Regions from separate parts of the Homo sapiens genome. Here all the other regions are linked to region 4. The links are contacts of gene promoters, found by promoter capture Hi-C in blood cells and fetal thymus (Javierre and others, 2016). All regions are on one chromosome and are shown on one strand. Each heading gives the region's core, a stretch centred on a gene start or on the middle of the fragment in contact. The rest is flanking DNA. Distances are from core to core; before and after follow the strand shown.

Region 1 (4,338 bases), core at 806-3,305, 470 kb after region 4:
TGCAGCGTGTGGGTTTGTTTGGTAATGTCCTACGCATCCATCCGCGGCCGTGTCCACACGCGTGGCCGTCCAGAGGAATGACAGCGGAGGGTACCTTTGATGCTTAGAGAAAGCAAGATCGCGGCCAAAGGTAGGGCAGTGTGTTTTCTGGATTGGCGACACATTGACCAGGCTGCATTCAGAGGACACTCACAGCAGCCGCCAGCTTGCGAGTTAGAACCGAAGTTTCTTGGAATGAGTGAGTTCCTTGGAAAGATGCTTAGTGCTTATTTTCAAAACTCCTTGTTTTGTGTGTGTGTGTGTGTGTGTGTGTGTGCGCGCGTGTGTGTTTTTAGTCAACTAGTCATTCCATTTTTCAAAACCCAAACTTCGTTAGCAAGATGTCATGAAAGTTGCTGTGGTGTGTTTCATTTCCATGTATAACTTCAAAAGAAAGTTAAACAGCAGGTTTAAGTTCATTTGGGCTGCAATCTCCATTTGAGTTTGTGTTGCTTTCACAGTGTAGATGTACAAAGAATTAAGGAATGTAGGAATTCCAATTTTTCAAAAAAATGGAGCAGGATACTGAATAAATCATCTTTTTGTTTGTTTCCTTTCATTAAACGGCTTCCCTGGAAACTTTCTTAAGTTATCATAGCTGCTTAAGAGAAGTATTTAGTTTTCTATTAATTCAGTAATTCTGGGTCCCACTGCGCTGGTTCATGGTAACATGAACTAGTTGTATTTCCTCTTTTAGAGCTCTCTCCTTTGCCGCAAAAACTTGTGTGCCGCTGCGAACAATTCCATCTCCAGCGCAGCTTGCATTTCTCCAGTAGTCTTGCAGTGGTAGCATCTGAAAATCAGTTTCTAATGAATGAGTCCAAATTGAATTACATCGCTGCCTTCAGATTTGCACTAGACACAGCTGTTCAACTTGTGGAAATAGTTCTGTGACCGACCACTAGCATATTAAAAAAAACTGCTATTGCTGTTGAAACAAAACCTGAATTTTGTGGCTTAAGTTTGAATACAATTCCTGGAATCAAGTTATGATAAGCGACGTTTAATATTAATGTAGAAGTGAAAAGCGATTTTTAAAGATCAATCATAAGGAGATTCTTATCTAGTTAAAATTTGTTAAACAGTGGGGAGGAGTAAATGATGCTCATGGTATATAAAAATCACTAATGCTTTTCTTTTTAGCTGATAAAAGTTGAGTTTGACGTTAATCTTATAAAATGAACTTATTGAAGTGAGAAATTTGGAAACAGTAGTTTAAATGCCGTTGTACTGCAAAACAGATCTCCGTTGCTTCATTAATCTTGCTGTGTTTGAGTAGTCTTCAGTTCTGTGAGACGTAGGTCATACGTGGCGAGTTCAGCTTTGAAGCTTGTCTTCTGAAACTGGTAACCTGGATGGCTTTGTAGCTTTGCTGTTGTTGAATGAATTTGTTGTAGATTTTGTCTTAAAAAGGGGGACAATTAGTAACACAAGACTTAACAAAAAGGCATGTCCTTATATGTACATCCAGCTGTTTCCAAGATGGAGCCCAAAGGTTAGCTTTTTCCATAGTAGTGTCCATTATTGGATGATCAGATGCTTAATAAGTTGATCAGAAAGGATTTTCCACACTTAACCACCTTTTCCCCCTTCCTTTACAATTTTGATCCTTGTAAGGCACAGGGGCTCTTTCGTGGGACCAAAAGTCAGCTTTAAATGGCTCCGATTTAATCCAAAGTAGAAAGTCAACATCATACTTAAGTTGGGTCATGTGTTACACATTCATCACCATCACACTATTGTGAAAGGGTCTGTTAGTATGGGGGACCAAGGAAGGGCTCATTATCAAGCACATTAAACAAGGGGCTGCTGGGCGCCATGGCTCATGCCTGTAATCCCAGCACTTTGGGAGGCGGAGGCTGGTGGATCAACTTCAGGTCAGGAGTTCAAGACCAGCCTGGCCAACATGGGGAAACCCCATCTGTACTCAAAATACAAAAACATAGCCAGGCATGGTGACATGCACCTGTAATTCCAGCTACTTGAGAGGCTGAGGCATGACAATTGCTTGAACTCGGGAGGCAGAGGTTGCAGTGAGCCAAGATCGCGCCACTGCACTCCAGCCTGGGTAATGGAGTGAGACGCTGTCTCCAAAAGAAACGAGGGACACTTTGTCTGTTGTAACTGCTCCACTAAGAAATTGAGTAATGAGATGGACAGAGATCTTAGGGATGTATTTTAAACAAATAAATGGCTTGAGTTTTTACATTAAATACATTCAAAAACTGAAGGCATTTGGTTAGGTGGGACAGACCTGAGAATAACATTCTTGAGGAACTCAATCTTATTTTAGTGACGGGATGTGTCTCTGAGGCTCCCAGGGGAAAATTGGGCCTAGTGGAGCAGGGTGTGTGCCCGGTGCATGTGATCAAATTTGAGGGAGGGGACCTCTGTCTAGGAGCTGAGGGGTTGAAAGGAGGAGGAGCCCTTGGCAGCCTGAGAAACAGGATCTACTTGGACTGCAGTGCATGTCTGTAGAGACTGGCCTGTGGGGCCACCAGTGTCACTTAGATGTGTCTGTGAAGGGTGGCAGTGAGCTGAGAGAAAAATGCACCCGACATTGGGGAGCTGCTCAGCCAGGGTGCTGCTCATCTGGGGGCATGGATGTTGCAAACAGCACTCCCGAAGGTCATGCAGCACCTCAGAGTGATGAATGTCACTGCCACTGATGACAAACAAGTTGCCGAAGCCTGGGAAGCTTATGCAGAGATGATGCAGAAATACGGAATGTGCTGCGAATGAGGGTAGCAAGAGAGAAACGGTACCTTTCACCCCACTGAAGCAGCAGCCCTGGAGAGGCACAGAATTTGATGGCCTCAGATGTTAAAGTAGCATTTTCTTGTATTATGTAGAAGCCTTTACACTTTCTCATACATGAGGTCTTCCTTTACTTGGCACCCTTACAATAAGTGGGGACTTTATATTACCGGTATATAGTTAGTTGGGTGTTTTGGAAACTTCTTTATTTAATATGTCCAAGTTAAAATAGCATATTGTGTCTTTCAACATCAGAGATTCATGATTTAACAGTATAAGACAAATATCCAGGCAAGCAGTAGACTTTTGTTTTTTGTTTTCTGGGTTGTTTTTTTTTTTTTTTTTTTTTTTTTTTGGTCAGCTTTATTGCAAAATTTGCACACAACAGACTGTTTATAAAGTTTTTTGAAATTGCAGGCCAGGGTGGTGGCTCATGCCTATAATCCCAGTGCTTAGGGAGACTGAGACAGGAGGATTGCTTGAGGCCAGCAGTTGGAGACCAGCCTGGACAACATAGTGAGACCCCATCTAAACAAAAAATTTTTTTAATTAGTTGGGTGTAATAGTACAATCCTGTAATCCCAGCTATTCAGGAGGCTGTGGCAGGAGGATCGCTTGAGCCCAGGAGGTCGAGGCTGCAGTGAGCTGTGATCATGCCACTGCACTCTGGCCTGGGTGACAGAGTGAGACCCTGTCTCTGGGGGAAAAAGGAAAAGAAAAACTACATTCTGAAGATTGAACATAGCTGTGTTTCATCCTGTGCTGTATAAGTGGCTCTAAGCAGTTGTGATTACATTTTATGACGTGAATCCTTTTAAATGCAATAGGGAAGCTTATTTAAAGAAAGCTGGTGGCGAATATGGTTGTCAACCAAATGGTCTGTTATGTATGTCTGGTACTTTATGTATCAGAGTGCTTTTCTCCACGTCACCTCAGTTTGATCCTTACAGCGTCCTGTGAGGAAGGGAAGATGCTGTTACTGCTATTTTCTAGGTGAGGAACTGGACTTGAGAGGTGATACAGGGTCAAAACCAGATCCAAACTAGATTGTTAAAGTCCGTAGCTCTATATATTTATTTTCTAAGTCTCTATCTGTAAACAATGCATTTACTTGAATCGACCCAGGAACCTGCCAAGCTTAGTGAGTTTCAGTAGCGGCCTTCCCGCACATGAATGAGATCACTAAGGGGGAGGTTTGTAACCACCTGTGGTGGGGGCAGCCAGGAGTGTATTCTTCCTCCTGGGTTAGGGCGTCCCCCTTTTCCCTCTGGTTCTGGTGTTATCCTCAGCGTGACGTGTGTGGGCTCGTGTTCCTGTTTACCTCAGGGAGAATGAGAAACGGTTATGTTACCCCATCAGTGAGTTCTGGCTAAGTAGGAATAAAAGTTGTCATAGAGACTTTTAGGACTAGGACATTTCATGACCGTGCTTCGTTTTTGAATAACTGAGAGGGGTGAGAGCGGTGGCCCCATTCAAAGGTCGTCAGGGATGAAGGTAGGCAAGGACAAGTCATGTGCAGGGCGCCTTAGAGGGCCTTCAGAA
Region 2 (4,296 bases), core at 1,317-3,816, 400 kb after region 4:
AATCTAGCATGTTCTAGTACGCTAAGTTTGTGGCATGACATGTAGGCGTGTCCCCCTCAGCCTCTACCTCGGGATAGTTAACAAAACTCCAAAAGAGTTGGCTGTGTTCCCAACCAATGGCTCTGTCACTGCCTCACACACAGGGCCTCCCCATCTGTGTCCACAGTAATCATCGCTGTGGATGGCTCTGCCAAGAGCTCCCCTGTGTGGACTCCAGTGTTGCGGCTGCTCTGAGATGGCCTCTTCCTTCCCTTACTCCTGCAAAGCAGCAACCTCCCAGCATCAACGTGCGATGCTGGCCCTCAGCCGGCCCCCTTGGCTTCTTGGTGAACCTCGTGTTCCGTTTCTGACGCTTTTCCTGGTCTGGACCCTACTCACTGGCCCAGAGGGAGACACTCCTAGCCATTCCCTGTAAGCTGCCACTAAGTCCCGGAGGTCCCTTCTGGTTTCAGCACCAGGCAGCTGCCCGAGCTGCGAGCTGGGAGTTCTGGGCCTGATCCCGGCTCAGAAAGAGGAACTTCATCCATTCGCTCCTGGGCTGGCCCAGCAGCAGCACGCCAGGCTCTCAGACCAGTGTGGGGCCCAGAGAGCCCCACCCAATCCCACCAATTGGAATTAGGGGAGGGCAGGGACAGAGCAGAGGACAGGCTGGGAATGCCCAGAAGAGTGGATGTCGAAGCATCGTCGTTCACCAGGACCCAGTGTCTGCAAAGCTCAGCTCCCAGCCTGCCCCGGCCAGCTCAGCGACGCCCGTCCTGCAGCTCTGCATGTCAGAAGCCACTGGACGGGGTGCGTCAGTGGGGCCTCTGGGTACATCCTCCTCACCCTGCAGCATTAAACCAAAGTGCTAATGATAACACCCAGATGAGTGCCAAGTGGAAAAATCAGAGCCTTACCATCCTCTGTGAAATCCTGAGTCAGTTTCACGCTTTGTAGGCATTTTAGGATTCAGCCATCCGTGAGATGATCCAGTTATTCCAATCAAATTCCACCTTCTCAATCCATGCAGCAATCCTCACACCAAAAACCATTCTGGGAGGCGTAAGAGCTGTGACGCGGCTCTGACAGCGACCTCCCCGTGCTGATGGTCACTTTGTCCCCACAGGTTGCCAGAACCTGATGTTTTTGCTGTTCGTGGTGTTGGATGGCTGCAAAGGGGTGACGGCGGTTCAAGCAGGCTTCTGACTTGTCCGTCGTATCCCAAAACCGGCGTTTTTTCCACACACACTGGCTGAAGCTTCCTACCTGTGGGCTTGGGAGCTTGCTAGTCACAGAATAAGGAAATCCACAGGTGTTAAAGAATCCGTCCATTCCAAAAGCGTGGATGGTTTTTTTTTAATCATCATGTTTTCTAGAAATTGCTCGGTTTTTATTTCTTTCCTCCCCTCTAACCCTCTTCTTATCCGCATTTTCCCATCTTCTCTTTTCCAGAAGACGAGAACCCTGTGGAGAGGGAGACTCCAAGTTTCCCTTCAGTTCACAGGAAGAGAGTTGCCGTGCAGGAGCCTAATTGTAAATTTGAAAAAATTAAAAACTGCTTATGCTCTGTCAATTACCAAAACGAGGAAGGACTGTATCTGTGAAATACGTATATATTTTTTGAGATGGAGCCCCGCTCTGTCGCCCAGGCTGGAGTGTAGTGGCGCGATCTCGGCTCACTGCAACCTCTGCCTCCCAGGTTCAAGTGATTCTCCTGCCTCAGCCTCCCAAGTAGCTGGGACTATAGGCACAGGCCACCACGCCCAGCTAATTTTTGTATTTTTAGTAGAGATGGGATTTCGCCATGTTGGCCAGGCTGGTCTCGAACTCCTGACCTCAAGTGATCCGCCCACCTCAGCCTCCCAAAATGCTGGGATTACAGGCATGAACTGCTGTACCCGGCCTGGTTGTTGCATTTTAATGTACTGAGCCAAGCACCAGGCTCCAGGGACACTGCTACTAGGTGGCCTGTCCTTGGCTCTGATGCAGGCGCTTCCAGGAAGAATGGGCTGCAGCTCTGTGCAGCCTGCCTGTGCTGGGCCAATGTCAGCTCCCCTTGCTCGAACAGGATTGGCCAGAACACGCCCTGTGCCTGCGAGCAGCCTTGAATGCCACTGGGGATTTGAGGTTTAGGCGTCCCGTTCCTTGAGCAGGAACCTCTGCAGAAAGGCAATTAGAAGAACAAAGTGCCCTCTCCCTGACGGTCTGTCTCCCTCACACCAAAAAGGAAGGTGAAGCTTCCTTTTTAAGGAGACCCCTTTTTAAGAACCACGGGGTAGCTGTGGTGGTTCACGTCTATAATCCCAGTGCTTTAGGAGACCACAGTGGGAGGATCACTTGAGCCCAGGAGTTTGGAACCAGCCTTGGCAACAGGGGTTGGAGGCTGCAGTGAGCTATGATCATGCCACTGCACTCCACCCTGGGCAACATAGTGAGACCCCATCTCTACAAATGATATAAAAGGCACCTGGGGGTGGTGGTGCGTGCCTGTGGTCCCAGCTATTCAGAAGCCTGAGGCAGGAGGATCGCTTGAATCCAGGAGTTCAAAGCTGCAGTGAACTGTGATTGTGCCATTGCACTCCAGCCTGGGCACCAGAGCGAGACCCTGTCTCTTAAAAAAAAAGAAGAAGAAGAAACATGTATGAGATAGAGCGCTGCAAATCTGGTTCCAACTTTCTCTGTGATTTTGCTGGAATTTGTTCAACACTGAGCTCACAGACAGCAGTGAACCAAAACTTGTTTTCTTTGGACTGCTTTGAGCAAAAATAGAAGAAAGGGGCTCATTTTTTTCCAGTGATTTTTTATTTTTCATCAATAGTGCAGATCCAAAGTAAGTATTTATTCACTGGCCTGATTTCCCAATCTTTTAACTTAGAAGTATGATTGCCAGTTTCCTAGGTTTTTAAGAATACGCTGAAAACAAGCTGCCAAGCTTAGGAGCCGAGAACCATAGAAAGTTCTGTCCATGTGCTTGGATCAGATTTCCAGCACAAACTGTGATGTGTACATCGCTTAACTCGGAGTCTGACTTTTGTTAGCTGTTGTTGGATGAACAGGTGTGTGCAGCGGATGAGTAACATGATACAAAGAGAGGTTGTACTTCCGCTGGGAGGAGAATGGGCATTTGGGTTTTTGTTGTTGTTGTTGTTTAATTTCAGCCCAACTGTTTAGAAAGAAAATTCTTGCTGTCTTTACCACTTTGTGCTGCACAGGGAGGTGGGAAGGAGGATGTTAGACGTGCGTATTAACAAATGCTCTTATGGCTACATTTTTTGGTCCATGCAAAAAAAAAAAAAAAAAAGTTCGTCTTTTTTTTATCCAGTTATCAAACTTGTGTAAAAATAAGAAAGTATATCCTTAAATAGAATTGTGCCCTGGAAGGAACCCAGATGGCTCTCTTGAGATTAAAATAGTCATCCCAGCCGGGCACGGTGGCTCATGCCTGTAATCCCAGCACTTTGGGAAGCCAAGGCAGGAGGACTGCTTGAGGCCAGGAGTTTGAGACCAGCCTGGCCAACATGGTGAAACCCCCTCTTTACTAAAAATAACAAAAATTAGCTGGGAGTGGTGGTGGGTGCCTGTAATCCCAGTGACTCGGGAGGCTGAGGCAGGACAATCACTTGAACCCAAGAGGCGGAGGTTGCAGTGAGCCGAGATCACGCCATTGCACTCCAGCCTGGGCAACAAGAGCGCAACTCCGTCTCAAAAAAAAAAAAAAAAAAACTTAGGGACATCATTCTCAGTTTTTTTTAAAGGGTACTAGTTTTAGTTTTGATTTACCAATTTATGTTTCCGAGACGTTTTTTCAATGAAGTGAGTCACTTTTGAACTATTGTGAGGCACTCATTCTAATTTCATGGCTCTCAGTTTACAGGAACATAACATTTGATGCCAATGAAATTCATTAGAATTCTGCGCTATCCTGTGAACTGCGTGCCCATCTGTCTTGTATGTGTTTCCAGGGGTGGCTTACAATGGTCTTCGCCATGTACTGGATGGACGTGTACTTATTATGAATCCTCACACCCTGAGACCCAAGAGGATCCCTCGTAAAACAAGGCCATATCTGATTTGGATTAAAATCCCCACGGAGAACCTGATGTCACCCAGGAAAGTGCACGTCTCCTTGCGTGCTCTTGAGAAACGGTTGAGAAAACAGTCCTTCCAGCTCAGTAAATACCATTTTCTTTCTGTCTGCTCACCACCCTTGCATTTGCAATAAACCTGACAAAAACTTCCAGAGCGAAAATAAGAATGTTCATATTTGAAGGAGATGTTGGCAGACGGCCACAGACTTCAAGTACGCAAGCTCATTCC
Region 3 (3,722 bases), core at 1-2,500, 440 kb before region 4:
CAGCCTCCCGAGTAGCTGGGACTACAGGTGCCCGCCACCACGCCCGGCTAATTTTTTGTATTTTTAGTAGAGACGGGGATTCACCACGTTAACCAGGATGTTCTCGATCTCCTGACCTCGTGATCCGCCCACCTCGGCCTCCCAAAGTGCTGGGATTATAGGTGTGAGCCACCGCGCCCGGCCTGAGACCAGCTCCCCTCCCAGCTAGGTGACTGAGGATGACCTGGCACAGTCGTGCTGACTGAAGGCTTGGAGAGGCCAGGTGGCCACCTGAGTGGGGCGGCGAGTCCCGCGTCACCCACCCAGACGGGGACTGGAAGACACTGCAGACTCAGGCTCTGGGCAGACAGAAGGCTTTGTTACTGCCACCGGGCAGGAGACACAGGGTCAGGGTTCCAGGGCCAAGTTATCCACTCCCTTGGGTCTTTCCTGCACGAGAAGCACAGCGGGACCAAGCAGGTTCGCTCGTTGTTCCCTAGGGGGATGAGCACCCTTCCCGCCACTCCCCTCACCTTCCGCCTCCACCCCCAGTACAGTTCCGTGCAGGTCCCAGAGGCCGGCAGGGCTCACCTTCCAGGGGCTCACCTTCCTGGGGCTTTCCCTGCGGGGCCCGGGGGAGCTGCAGCAGCAGCAGTGGGCGACGACCAGCAGCAGCAGGAGCAGCACGGTGCCTGGGGACAGGACAGGCGTCCAGGTGTGGCCCCAACCTGGAGCCCAGGGCAGGGGGCTGGGAGGACCCAGAGGCCACAGCCACACTTACCCATGAAGGTGAGGAAAACAATGAAGGCAACAGTGTCCCATGTGGACTGGAAAAACTGGTGGCTCTTCAGTCTCCCCAGGACTTCCTGAACCGTGGCCTCCAGCTCCTCTGTGGACACAGCCATCTTGGCGTGCACCGTGCCACCTGCCCCGGTCCCCCAGAGGCTGCATCAGGATCCTGGGCTCAGCTCAGCGGGGACCACATCCAGGCTTCCCACAGCCCAGCCACTGCCCGCTCCTGGCCCAGCGCCAGCTTCCCCACCCCCTCCCACTCCACTTCTCCCTCGGCCCCAGGCCCAGCTTCTCTCCTTGCCCAGCCCTGTGGTCCTTACCCTGACAACCTTCTCCCCAGCCACTGTCATCTCCCCTCTCTCTCCCCCTGGCAGCCCAGCCCCCAGGCCCCCACCTACCTCCTAGAAGCCTCCAATTCCCCCAACCAGGCAGGTCCTGGGGAGCACAGGCTGCTTCCTGCTTCCGGCTCCACACCACCTGAGGCCTTGGCAACCAGCCCCGCCCTCCCCAGGGCCAGCAGAGGCCGCCCAGCCCAGGGGAGAGGGCCCAGGCCCAGCAGGTGCGCTCCCTGGCTCCCCACTGCTGGAGGCCCAGGGAGGAAGACGCCGGCCTGTGGCTTCTTCACTCCTGAGACTTCTTACCTTTCCTCAGTATCCCAGATATGCAGCTGGGAACACCTGTGTGCTTGGCCACTGCTGACTTCGTGAATGAAAGAGAGAGAGATGGGAGAGAAGGTGGGTGGGAGGGAGGGGGAAGGGGGAGAAAACCTACCTGCATCCCACGACCCTTGAGCAGCTAGGACAGGTGTGCCTGCATCATAGAGTTGTCCTTGGAATCCTCAACGATTGGTTCCAGCACCTCCGTGGGTACCAAAATCCACAGATGCTATAAACTCCCTGATATAAAATGAGGCAGTATTTGCATATAACCTGTGCATATACTCTATACTTTAAATCATCTCTGGATTACTTATAATACTTAATATATTTGGCCTGGCCTGGTGGCTCACACCTGTAATCCCACCACTTTGGAAGGCCAAGTTGGGCAGATCACTTACTTAGATCAGGAGCTTGAGACCGTCCTGGCCAACATGGCGAAACCCCACCTCTACTAAAAATACAAAAATTGGGCCGGGCGCAGTGGCTCACGCCTGTAATCCCAGCACTTTGGGAGGCAGAGGCGGGTCAGCTGAGGCCAGAAGTTTGAGACCAGCCTGACTGACCAACGTGGAGAAACCATGTCTCTACTAAAAATACAAAATTAGCCAGGCGTGGTGGCACATTCCTGTAATCCCAGCTACTAGGGAGGCTGAGGCAGGAGAATCACTTGAACCCGGGAGGCAGAGGTTGTGGTGAGCCGAGATCACGCCATTGCACTCCAGCCTGGGCAACAAGAGCAAAACTCCATCTCAAAAAAAAAAAAAGATAAAAATACAAAAATTGGTCGGGTGTGGTGGCTCATGCCTGTAATCCCAGCACTTTGGGAGGCCGAGGCAGGCGGATCACAAGGTCAGGAGATCAAGACCATCCTGGGTAACACGGTAAAACCCCATCTCTACTAAAAATACAAAAAATTAGCCGGCCATGGTGGCACGCGCCTATAGTCCCAACTACTCAGGAGGCTGAGGCAGGAGAATTGCTTGAACCCTGGAGGCAGAGATTGCAGTGAGCCGAGATCTCGCCACTGCACTCCAGCCTGGGTGACAGAGCAAGACTCCATCTCAAAAAATAATAATAATACAAAAATTACCCCGCTGTGGTGGCGGGCACCTGTAATCCCAGCTACTTGGGAGGCTGAGGCAGGAGAATCGCTTGAACCCAGGAGGCGGAGCCTGTAGTGAGCCAAGATCATGTCACCGCACACCCGCCTGGGTGACAGAGCAAGACTATCTCAAAAAAAATAAATTGGCTGGGTGCGGTGGCATACTCCTGTAATCCCAGCTAATCGGGAGGCCAAGGCAGGAGAATCGCTTGAACCCAGGAGGCAGAGGCTGCAGTGAGCCAAGATGGCACCACTGCACTCTAGCGTGGGTGACAGAGCAAGACTCCATCTCAAGAAAAAATTGTATACATATATTTATTTAATATAATGTATGCTAGGTAAATAATTGTTACATTGTATAGGGAACAGTAAGCAAAAAAGTCTGTACATGTCCAATAGAGATGTGATTTGTTTCCAAATATTTTCTGTCTGTGGTTGGCTGAAGCCACAGATGTGGAACCTGTGGATACGGAAGGCCAGCTGTACTAGGACTCTTCACTGTCCTTATTTTCTCTATTTTACTACTTGAAAATATCAGCTAATGTGGGGCTCTGCATCGAGCACTGTGCTGTGTCACCTGGTTTATTCCTCATAGCAATCCTAAAGTGGGTATTATTGCTTTTTCCATTTTACAGATGAGGAAACGGAGGCCTAGAGAAGTTTAGCCATTAGCCCGTCACACACCTAATGTATCCATGTCCCAATGCTGCCGTAACACTACCACAAACTCTGTGGCTTCAAACAACACAAATGTATTGCCCTATGGTTCTGAAGGTCAGAGTCTAAAATGGGTCGACCAGGCTGTGTTCATCCTGAAGGTTCTAGGGCAGAGTCCATCTTTTGCCTTGTCCAGCTTCTAGAGGGTGGTGGCATTCCTGGGCTTGTGGTCTCCCATCCCTCCACCCTCTGCTTCCAGGCTCACGTCTCCTCCTCTGACTCTAATCCTCCTCCCTCCCTTTTTTTTTTTTTTTTTTTTTGAGACAGAGTTTCGCTCTTTTTGCTGAGGCTAGAGTGCAGTGGCGCCATCTCGGCTCACTGCAATCTCCGCCTCCCGGGTTCGAGCGATTCTCCTGCCTCAGCCTCCTGAGTAGCTGGGATTACAGGCACCTGCCACCACGCCCAGCTAACTTTTGTATTTTAGTAGAGACTGGGTTTCACCATGTTGGCCAGGCTGGTCTCAAACTCCTGAC
Region 4 (3,927 bases), core at 1,285-3,784:
TCAGCTAAGAGCCAAGACTTGAAGGCTGATGAGGAGCCAGCCAGGGAGAGAGCCACTTCCGAGGCAAGGAAGTACAATGTGGGCACAGAGAGAGGAATGTGGAGGCCAGGAGGAAGAGGAAGAAGGGCAGCGGTGTAGAGTAGGATTCCAGGTGGCCCAACTTTCATCCCACCATTTGCCGAATGCTGTGCGCCAGATGCTCTTCCAGGCGCTTGACATCTAACAGCAGAGAAGAGAGAGGAAATGCTTGCCCAAAAGGAACTCCCATTCTAGTGGAAGGAAACAGATTCTCAACAATAAACATAAAAATAAAGGGAGGCCAAGGTGGGAGGATTGCTTGAACCCAGGAGTTTGAGGTCAGACTGGGCAACATAGGGGAACCCTTGTCTCTACAAAGAATACAAACATTAGCTGGGCGCGGTGGCTCACGCCTGTAATCCGAGCACTTCGGGAGGCCAAGGCAGGCGGATCACGAGGTCAGGAGCACGAGACCATCCTGGCTAACACGGTGAAACCCCGTCTTTACTAAAAATACAAAAAATTAGCCGGACATGGTGGCCCATGCCTGTAGTCCCAGCTACTCAGGAGGCTGAGGCAAGAGAATCTCTTGAACCCAGGAAGCAGAGGTTGCAGTGAGCCGAGGTCATGCCACTGCACTCCAGGCTGGGCAACAGGGAGACGCTCTCAAAAAGACAAAAAACAAACATTAACCACATGTGTTGGCACATGCCTGTGGTCCCAGCTACTCAGAAAGCTGAGGTGAAAGTATCACTCAAGGCTGGAAGGTCAAGACTGCAGTGAGCCATGATCATGCTACTGTACTGCAGCCTGGGCAACAGAGTGAGACCCTATCTTGAAAAAAAAAAATTTTTTTTTGGCTGGGCACGGTGGCTTACACCTGTAATCCCAGCACTTTCGGAGGCTGAAGTGGGAGGATCACTTGAACCCAGGAGGTGGAGATCGCAGTGAGCCAAGATTGGGCCACTGCTCTCCAGCCTGGGTGACAGAGCAAGACTTCATCTCAAAAAAAAAAAAAAAAGGAAAAATAATTTAAAAATAAAAAACCGGTTGGGCACAGTGTCACATGCCTATAATCCCAGCACTTTGGGAGGCTGTGGCGGGTGGATCATTTGAGACCAGTAGTTCAAGACCAGCCTGGCCAACATGGTGAAACCCTGTCTCTACTAAAAATTCAAAAATTAATGGGGCATGGTGGTCCATGCCTGTAATCCCAGCTACTCAGGAGGCTAAAGCATGAGCATCGCCTGAACCTGGGAGGTGGAGGTTGCAGTGAGGCAGGATTGTGCCACTGGACTCCAGCCTGGGCGACAGGGTGAGACCCTGTCTCAAAATGATAAATAAAATAAATAAGTAAATTATGTGGTATGGTAGAGGGTGATCAGAGTCTTGGAAGAAAAATAGAGACAAGAAGGGAGGATAAGCCAGTCACAAAAGGCTGCACATTGTATGATTCAATTTCTTCTTTTTTTTCATTTTTCATTTTTACCTTTTTTTTTTTTTTTTTTTTTTTTGAGGCAGGGCCTGACTCTGTCACCCAGGCTGGAGTGCAGTGATCACAGCTCACTGCAGCCTGTACCTCCCGGGCTCAAGAGATCCACCACTCAGCCTCCCAAGTAGCTGGGATTACAGGCACCTGCCACCACACCCGGCTAATTTTTGTATTTGTAGAGATGGGGTTTCACCATGTTGCCCAGCCTGGCCTTGAGTTCCTGACCTCAAGCGATCCACCTCGGCCTCCCAAAGTTTTGAGATTGCAGGCATGAGCCACCACGCCTGGCTTGTATGATTCCATTTCTATGAAATGTCCGGAACCTGTGAATCCATAGAGAGAAAAATGAGTGGTTGACAGGGGCTGGGGGAGGGGGCTGGGGAGTGACTAATGGGTGATGAAAACGTTCTGGAACTAATAGTGGTGACAGTGGCACAGCTCTGTGAATAAAAGGCATTGGACTGTGCACTTGAAAATCATGAAATCTACAGTGTATGGATTATATCTCAATAAAGCTGTTACTTTTTTCATTCATGGAGGGCAAGTCACGGCGTTTTAAGGGGTCCAGGTGGGCCTCATTGAGGTGACATTTGAGCAAAGATTTGAAGAAGGGAACGAGCTTCTCAGGCAGGAGGAATGTGGATGAAACCTATTTTGAAGTTTTCTATTTTCTAAAGTATTTTTGAGAATTTAGCATCCTACTCCATATTATGTTCATTGATTTCATATAATGTTGCATTCCCAAATATTTTGGCAAAATCAAGGGCAGAAATCGCCCCACGTCTGACCGATGTGCTTAGCTGCTCCAGCGCACTGGGGTAAGCACGCGGGCAATTGAGACTCCCGGTAACGCCCCTTGCCCTCCCAAGCCCGCCCCCAGTTATCCAGAGCCCGACGCAGGCTCAGTCAAACCCCGCCTCCGACCCCGCCCCGAGCCGCTAAGACGCTCCCGGTGGCCCGCCCTTAGACTGAGGCAATGCGCATGCCCAGCGCCGTATCGCGCACGCGCTCTCTGCGGCTTTCCTTGACCTCTGACCCGCCGACCACGCTTGATCCCCGGCCGCGGGGCCAGGAAGTCGGAGTTTGAGCCCCGGAGGCAGAGCGGCTGCCATGGTGAGCCCCGAGTCGGGCGCTACCGGGGAGGGGAAGCCGAGTCGGGCCGGGGGCCGGGGGCCGGGCGGCGAGCTCCGGGCTGGGCGGCGGGCGCCGTGCGCCCCCTGCGTGCCCGGCGGGAAGCATGGTCTGGGGGCGTTGCACCCGGGGGAATCGAGGCCGGCAGCGGCGGCACCGGCGGCCTCAGGGCCAGGGAAAACCGTCTGCCTGGAAGAGGCCGGGCAAACGTGGTCGCGCTGTGCCTAGCCCGCGTGTGAGCGAGCAGCCGTGGGCAGCGGTGGAGCATGAGTCTGGCTGGTGAGCGCCTCCCCTGCCCTGGAACCTTACAGCGCTGCAGAGTCGATGTTGCTGCCCTGTTGTTATCCCCAGTGGAAAGCTGGCCTTTCCAGGGAAGTGGCTGACCTGGGACTTGAACTAGGCCCCGAGACACCGAGCACGGAGCGTTTGTGTGATATCGTTGGCACGTAGAGCCAGTCAACAGACCTGCGCCACACTGTCAGGTCACCTAGGGTAGCTTTAAAAGTGCAGGTTTGGCTGGGCGCGGTGGCTCACGCCTGTAATCCCAGCACTCTGGGAGGCCGAGGCGGCGGATCACGAGGTCAGGAGTTCGAGACCAGCCTGGCCAACATGATGAAACCCGGTCTCCACCAAAAAATTTAAAAAATTAGCCGGGTGGGGTGGTGCGCGCCTGTAGTCCAAGCTACCCGGGAGGCTGAGGCAGGACAGACGCTTGAACCCGCGAGACAGAGGTTGCAATGAGCCGAGATCCGCCAGTGCACTCTAGCCTGGGCGACAGGGTGAGACTGCGTCTCAAAAAAAAAATTATATATATGTATTATATATACCGTATACATTTATGTATACTACATATTATTATGTTATATATATTTTTATATATCATGTATTTTATATATATATATACACACACACACACATAATATATACATATGTTAGCCAGGCATGGTGGCACACACCTGTAATCCCAGCTGCTTGGGAAGTTGAGGCGCCAGTATCGCTTGAACCCAGGAGGCAGAGGCTGCAGTGAACCAAGATTGTGCCACTGCACTCCAGTCTGGGCGACAGGGCAAAACTCTCTCAAAAAGAAAAAGAGGGGGAAAAAAAAAGTTCAGGTTCTTGAGCTCTATCCCTGGAGGTTCTGCACACGTAAGTTCCCCAAGTGACTCTGTTGCAGCTGGTTCGGGGAGCCACTTCTTAACTAACATAGTAATAAGGATAATGTAACAGCTAACGGCGTACAAGTGCCAGCCCCTGAGCTAAGGCTTTATGTAGAGTCTCTCATTTAG
Region 5 (4,531 bases), core at 1,820-4,319, 380 kb after region 4:
GAGATAACTTTCCAGGCTTACAAATAATAAATAGAACCACAACGAAAAGATGGACAGATTTGAGAGGAAGGGAGAGAAAATCAAAGCACACAGAAAAGGACCGGGCTCGGTGACTCCCGCCTGTAATCCCAGCACTTTGGGAGGCCAAGGCAGGAAGATTACTTGAGGCCTGGAGTTCTAGACCAGCCTGGGCAACATAGCGAAATCCTGTTTTGGCAAAAAATTGTAAAAATTAGCCAGGTATGGTGGTATGCACCTGTAGTCCCAGCTACTCGGGAAGCTAAGGTGGGCTTGAGGCCGGGAATTTGAGGCTGCATTGAGCTGTGATGGTGTCCTTGCACCCCAGCCTGGTTGTCACAGCAAGACTCTGTCTCAGAAAAAAAAGGCCAGGCACGTTGGCTCATGCCTGTAATTCCAGCACTTTGGGAGGCCAAGGCAGGTGGATCACCTGAGATCAGGAGTTCAAGACCAGCCTGGCCAACATGGCAAAACCCCGTCTCTACTAAAAATACAAAAATTAGCTGGGGTGGTGGTGGGCACCTGTAATCCTAGCCACTTGGGAGGCTGAGGCAGGAGAATTGCTTGAACCTGGGAAGCGGAGGTTGCAGTGAGCCAAGATCGGCCACTGCACTCCAGCCTGGGCGACAGAGTGAGACTCTGTCTCAAAAAATAAAATAAAATAAAAAAAAGATTCATTAGCAACTGTAGTTGTCAATAATAAATAAATTAACTGATTATACATTTACTCAAATAATACAACTGTTAAAATGCAGTAAATATGGAAAACATTTAAGATTTTCATTTACTAGGTGAAACTATATATGTACTATAGGTACAACTAGGTATTTATATATAGTAAAAATATGTACAAGATTTATACTTAGGATATAATGAATGAGTGATGATTACAGCTTTAGTACTTAAAAGTAAAGCACCTAGCATCTTTTTTTAACCTTTTATTGATGTGTATGTCAGTATGCACAGAAGAGTACCTGATCATAAAAGGACAGCTCAGTGCATTTTCACCAGAGAACACACCCATTTAACTACCACCCAGACCAAGAAGTAGAGCATTACCACTACCCCAGAAGCCCTCCAACCCCACCGCTGCTGACCCCCTCTCCCCCGACCTGACCACCTCCCTAGGGGCAGATTTTAAATGGCACTGAAATATACCAAAGTGTCAACCGAAGCCACGTTTGGCTGGTTAGGACTGCAAGTGATGTTTGCTTTCTATTTTTTTCAGTTTTTCAATCCCTCTTCTCCATGATAACGGATTACACTGTATTTTACTCTAACTTCCATTTATGACTTATAAATTAACTCCTGCATTTAGTCACATGAAATGCCTCTTTTTGAGCCAGGTGTGGTGGCTCACGCCTGTAATCCCAACACTTTGGGAGGCTGAGGCAGGTGGATCACCTGAGGTCAGGAGTTCGAGACCAGCCTGACCAACATGTTTGTGAAACCCCATCTCTACTAAAAATACAAAAATTAGCTGGACGTGGTGGCGGGCACCTGTAATCCCAGCTACTCGGGAGGCTGAGGCAGGAGAATTGCTAGAACCCGGGAGGCAGAGGTTGCAGTGAGCCTAGATCGCACCACTGCACTCCAGCCTGGGGGACAGAGCAAGACTCCATCTCAAAAAAAAAAAAAGAAAAGAAAAAGAAATTCTTCTTTTTGAAGTGGATCTTTGCTATTTGAATTTAGGAATAGGATCGGCTCCTTTGTTCCTTTGGTATTAAAATAGGAAACACACATTCTAGCTGGGAAGCTGTCCTCGTACCTGTTTCTTACAGATGCCTTCTGTTGCGAGGCAGCCCCCTTGGTTTCTGAGTGCACATGCTGTGTGTGATGGCTTTTCTTCCTTGGAAGCAAAGGTGGAAAGCAAACGCTGTGCTCTGCCTTCCTCTCCCTCTGGCACTAGCCCATGTGCTGCTGTCCCTCCTCTGCCTGGAGGGGCCTGGCCTGCGCCCGTCTCGAGTCAGCTGTGCTGCTGGCTCCGGCTCCCGCAGATTAGAGTGAGCTGTACAAGCGATAACTGATTGAGAAGCCCAGATACAGTCTCCCATTTCCACCACAGAGACTGGAAACACCCCCTGCACATAATGGGGATGTTAGACCTTGGTGACACCTGCTCCTAAAGGGGACTGTTCTTGGTGTCACCACTTTGAGAAACCAAAAGAAAGGTCAACTCCTAACCCAACGAGCGGGGCTCACAAAACCTTCCCCCAGTCCATATTCTCTTCCTGCTCTATTTACAATCAACCAGAGGGCTCATGGAGCTGGACAGAAATATGTTTGAGTCATCATCGTAACAAATGGTTATTTTGCTTAGTACTTGAGATGTAGGATATGTAATGTCATCTGTTTCAATAGCAGTTCACGAAATGAGTCAGTGAAGCACAGGGTGTCTTCCCACTGAGGACTCTTGGTTCCTGGTCATAGGCGTTGAGTCACAAAGCCCGTATCAGGGCTCCCAAGACCAGCCCCAGGTGGACTCAGGACTCCGCAATCTGCTCTCTCACCGCTGTGATTACAGCGAAAAGACATAAGGCAGAATCAGCAAAGGGAAGGGTGTGTGAGTTGACGTTTGGAGGAAGCCGGCACCAGCTTCCAAGAGTCCTCTCCCGGTAGAGTCACACGGGATGGGCTTAATTCCTCCAGCAGTGAGTGGTGACAACACTTGTAACATGCTGCCTACCAGGGAAGCTCATTAAAGTCTCGGTGTCCAGGCTTGTATTAGGGGCTGTTCAGGTCTCCCGCCTCTGCCCAGCACGTGCCTAAATTCCAGACTTCCAGCAGGAAAGCGGGTATTCAGCGTAAACCTCCTTATTTAGACAGTGTAGGCAGTGTGAGCCGCTCTTATCAAGGAATGGCAGGAACCCTCCCCAAATCCCAGCTCCCTGGTGCCAGCCACCACCTTTGCAGGCAGGTCTTTCCAAGGATGGCAGCCTCAGGCCTTTCCTGCACGGAACCTTAGGCTGGAAGGGACGTAGCCATGCTCCAGTCCATCTTCACAGCTTACAAGCGAGGAAACTGAGACCCAGAAAGATGGCATGGCTTACCCAAGATTCTGAAACTCCCCCGCGGTCCAGCCAGGATGGGGCCCAGGGGTTCTGTTCCACCCACGGCCAGGGCTTTTGGCGGTTGTGCTTCGCAGAGGGCCGTGATGGCCACACAGGTCAAGCTCATTGTTTTTTAATATCCCAAGAACAGTTAGTGAAACTTATTAGACACTTTGATTAAAGGACTGAGCTTTTGGCCGGGCATGGTGGCTCGTGCCTGTAATCCCAGCACTTTGGGAGGCCAAGGCGGGTGGATCACCTGAGGTCAGGAGTTCCAGACCAACCTGGTCAACATGGTGAAACCCTGTCTCTACTAAAAAATACAAAAATTAGCCAAGTATGGTGGCGCACACCTGTAGTCCCAGCTACTCGGGAGGCTGAGGCAAGAGAATCACTTGAACCTGGAAGCGGAGGTTGCAGTGAGCCAAGGTCGCGCCATTGCACTCCAGCCAGGGCAACAGAGCAAGAAAGAAAAAAGAAGAATTGAGTTTTGGCCAGGCGTGGTGGCTCATCCCTGTAATCCCAGCACTTGGGGAGGCTAAGGCAGGCAGATTGGTTGAGCTCAGGAGTTCAAGACCAGCCTGGGCAAGATGGCGAGACCCTGTCTCTAAAAGAAAAAGAATTGAGCTTTCCAGTGTGATGGAGCTGTCTAAACTGTGGATCCGCCAGTCGCATATATAAGTATATAGTGACCAAGCCCATTATTGCATCAAATCAACTGGCCTACTCTGTGCGCGGGAGGAATGCATCAGGGTACAGCATTTACATGAACAGAACAGTCACGGTGTTGTAAAAAAGAAAAAGACTAGAATGCAGTTCAACAAATGTTAATAGTGATTGCCTCTGGATGGCAGGACGATGGACAAATCTTTTTTGTCTATTTTTTTCTACATTTTCTATGATGAGTATGTAGTATTTTTAAATGGGAAAAAATGTATTCCAGCACACTGGGGAGGCAGAAGCAGAACAGTTTGAACCCAGGAGTTTGAGACCAGCCTGGGCAACATAGTAAGACCTCATCTCTACAAAAAGTTCAAAAAATTAGCCAGGTGTGGTGGTGTGTGCCTGTAGTCCCAGCTAATCTGGAGGCTGAGGCGGGAGGATCGCTTTAGCCTGGGAGGTCAAAGCTGCAGTGAGCTAGGATCGCACCACTGCAGTCCAGCTTGGATGACAGAGACAGACCCTGTCTCTTCTTAAAAAAAAAAAAAAATACATATATATATATATATATATATATATATATATATATATATTTCAAACAAACTTTAAGAAATTGTGCTACTCAGCCAGGTGTGGTGGCTCACACCTGTAATCCCAGCACTTTGGGAGGTCGAGGCGGGCAGATCACTTTAGGTCAGGAGTTTGAGACCAGCCCAGCCAACATGGTGAAACCCCGTTTCTACCAAAAAAAAAATACAAAAATTAGCTGGGCCTGGTGGCGCACACTACTCAGGAGGCTGGGC

Evidence for each region. Contacts are between HindIII fragments. The CHiCAGO score rates a contact against its expected background, and 5 or more counts as called.
Region 1: a contact is called between a fragment that was not itself captured here and the fragment with the promoter of PAM16 in region 4, in 1 of 17 cell types (M1 macrophages). The highest score is 5.4, in M1 macrophages.
Region 2: a fragment that was not itself captured here is called in contact with the fragment with the promoter of PAM16 in region 4 in 1 of 17 cell types (endothelial precursors); the score reaches 5.5 in endothelial precursors.
Region 3: a contact is called between the fragment with the promoter of SMIM22 here and the fragment with the promoter of PAM16 in region 4, in 1 of 17 cell types (fetal thymus). The highest score is 6.5, in fetal thymus.
Region 5: a contact is called between a fragment that was not itself captured here and the fragment with the promoter of PAM16 in region 4, in 2 of 17 cell types (M2 macrophages and M1 macrophages). The highest score is 7.7, in M2 macrophages.

What each region holds. Positions count from the first base shown.
Region 1 is chr16:3,875,213-3,879,550 of GRCh38, reverse strand. The region is part of intron 1 of CREBBP (CREB binding lysine acetyltransferase); the gene reads left to right. Among named protein-coding and RNA genes, the nearest start is that of CREBBP, 3.3 kb to the left of the region's middle. The HindIII fragment of the contact is 1,369 bases long and covers 1,371-2,739 here.
Region 2 is chr16:3,950,652-3,954,947 of GRCh38, reverse strand. It overlaps a transcript of ADCY9 not described here. Among named protein-coding and RNA genes, the nearest start is that of TRIDDENT, 2.4 kb to the right of the region's middle. The HindIII fragment of the contact is 695 bases long and covers 2,219-2,913 here.
Region 3 is chr16:4,792,897-4,796,618 of GRCh38, reverse strand. It overlaps SMIM22 (small integral membrane protein 22), which reads right to left and starts at 1,250. Exons shown (of 4, transcript NM_001253794.2): 1 at 1,170-1,250; 2 at 761-904; 3 at 571-671; 4 at 128-429. The coding sequence starts at 884. The coding sequence ends at 388. The HindIII fragment of the contact is 14,181 bases long and covers 1-3,722 here.
Region 4 is chr16:4,349,928-4,353,854 of GRCh38, reverse strand. It overlaps PAM16 (presequence translocase associated motor 16), which reads left to right and starts at 2,534. Exons shown (of 5, transcript NM_016069.11): 1 at 2,534-2,623. The coding sequence starts at 2,621. The region is part of intron 27 of CORO7-PAM16 (CORO7-PAM16 readthrough); the gene reads left to right. The HindIII fragment of the contact is 23,481 bases long and covers 1-3,927 here.
Region 5 is chr16:3,969,360-3,973,890 of GRCh38, reverse strand. All of the region lies in intron 10 of ADCY9 (adenylate cyclase 9), which reads left to right. Among named protein-coding and RNA genes, the nearest start is that of TRIDDENT, 21 kb to the right of the region's middle. The HindIII fragment of the contact is 7,552 bases long and covers 1-4,531 here.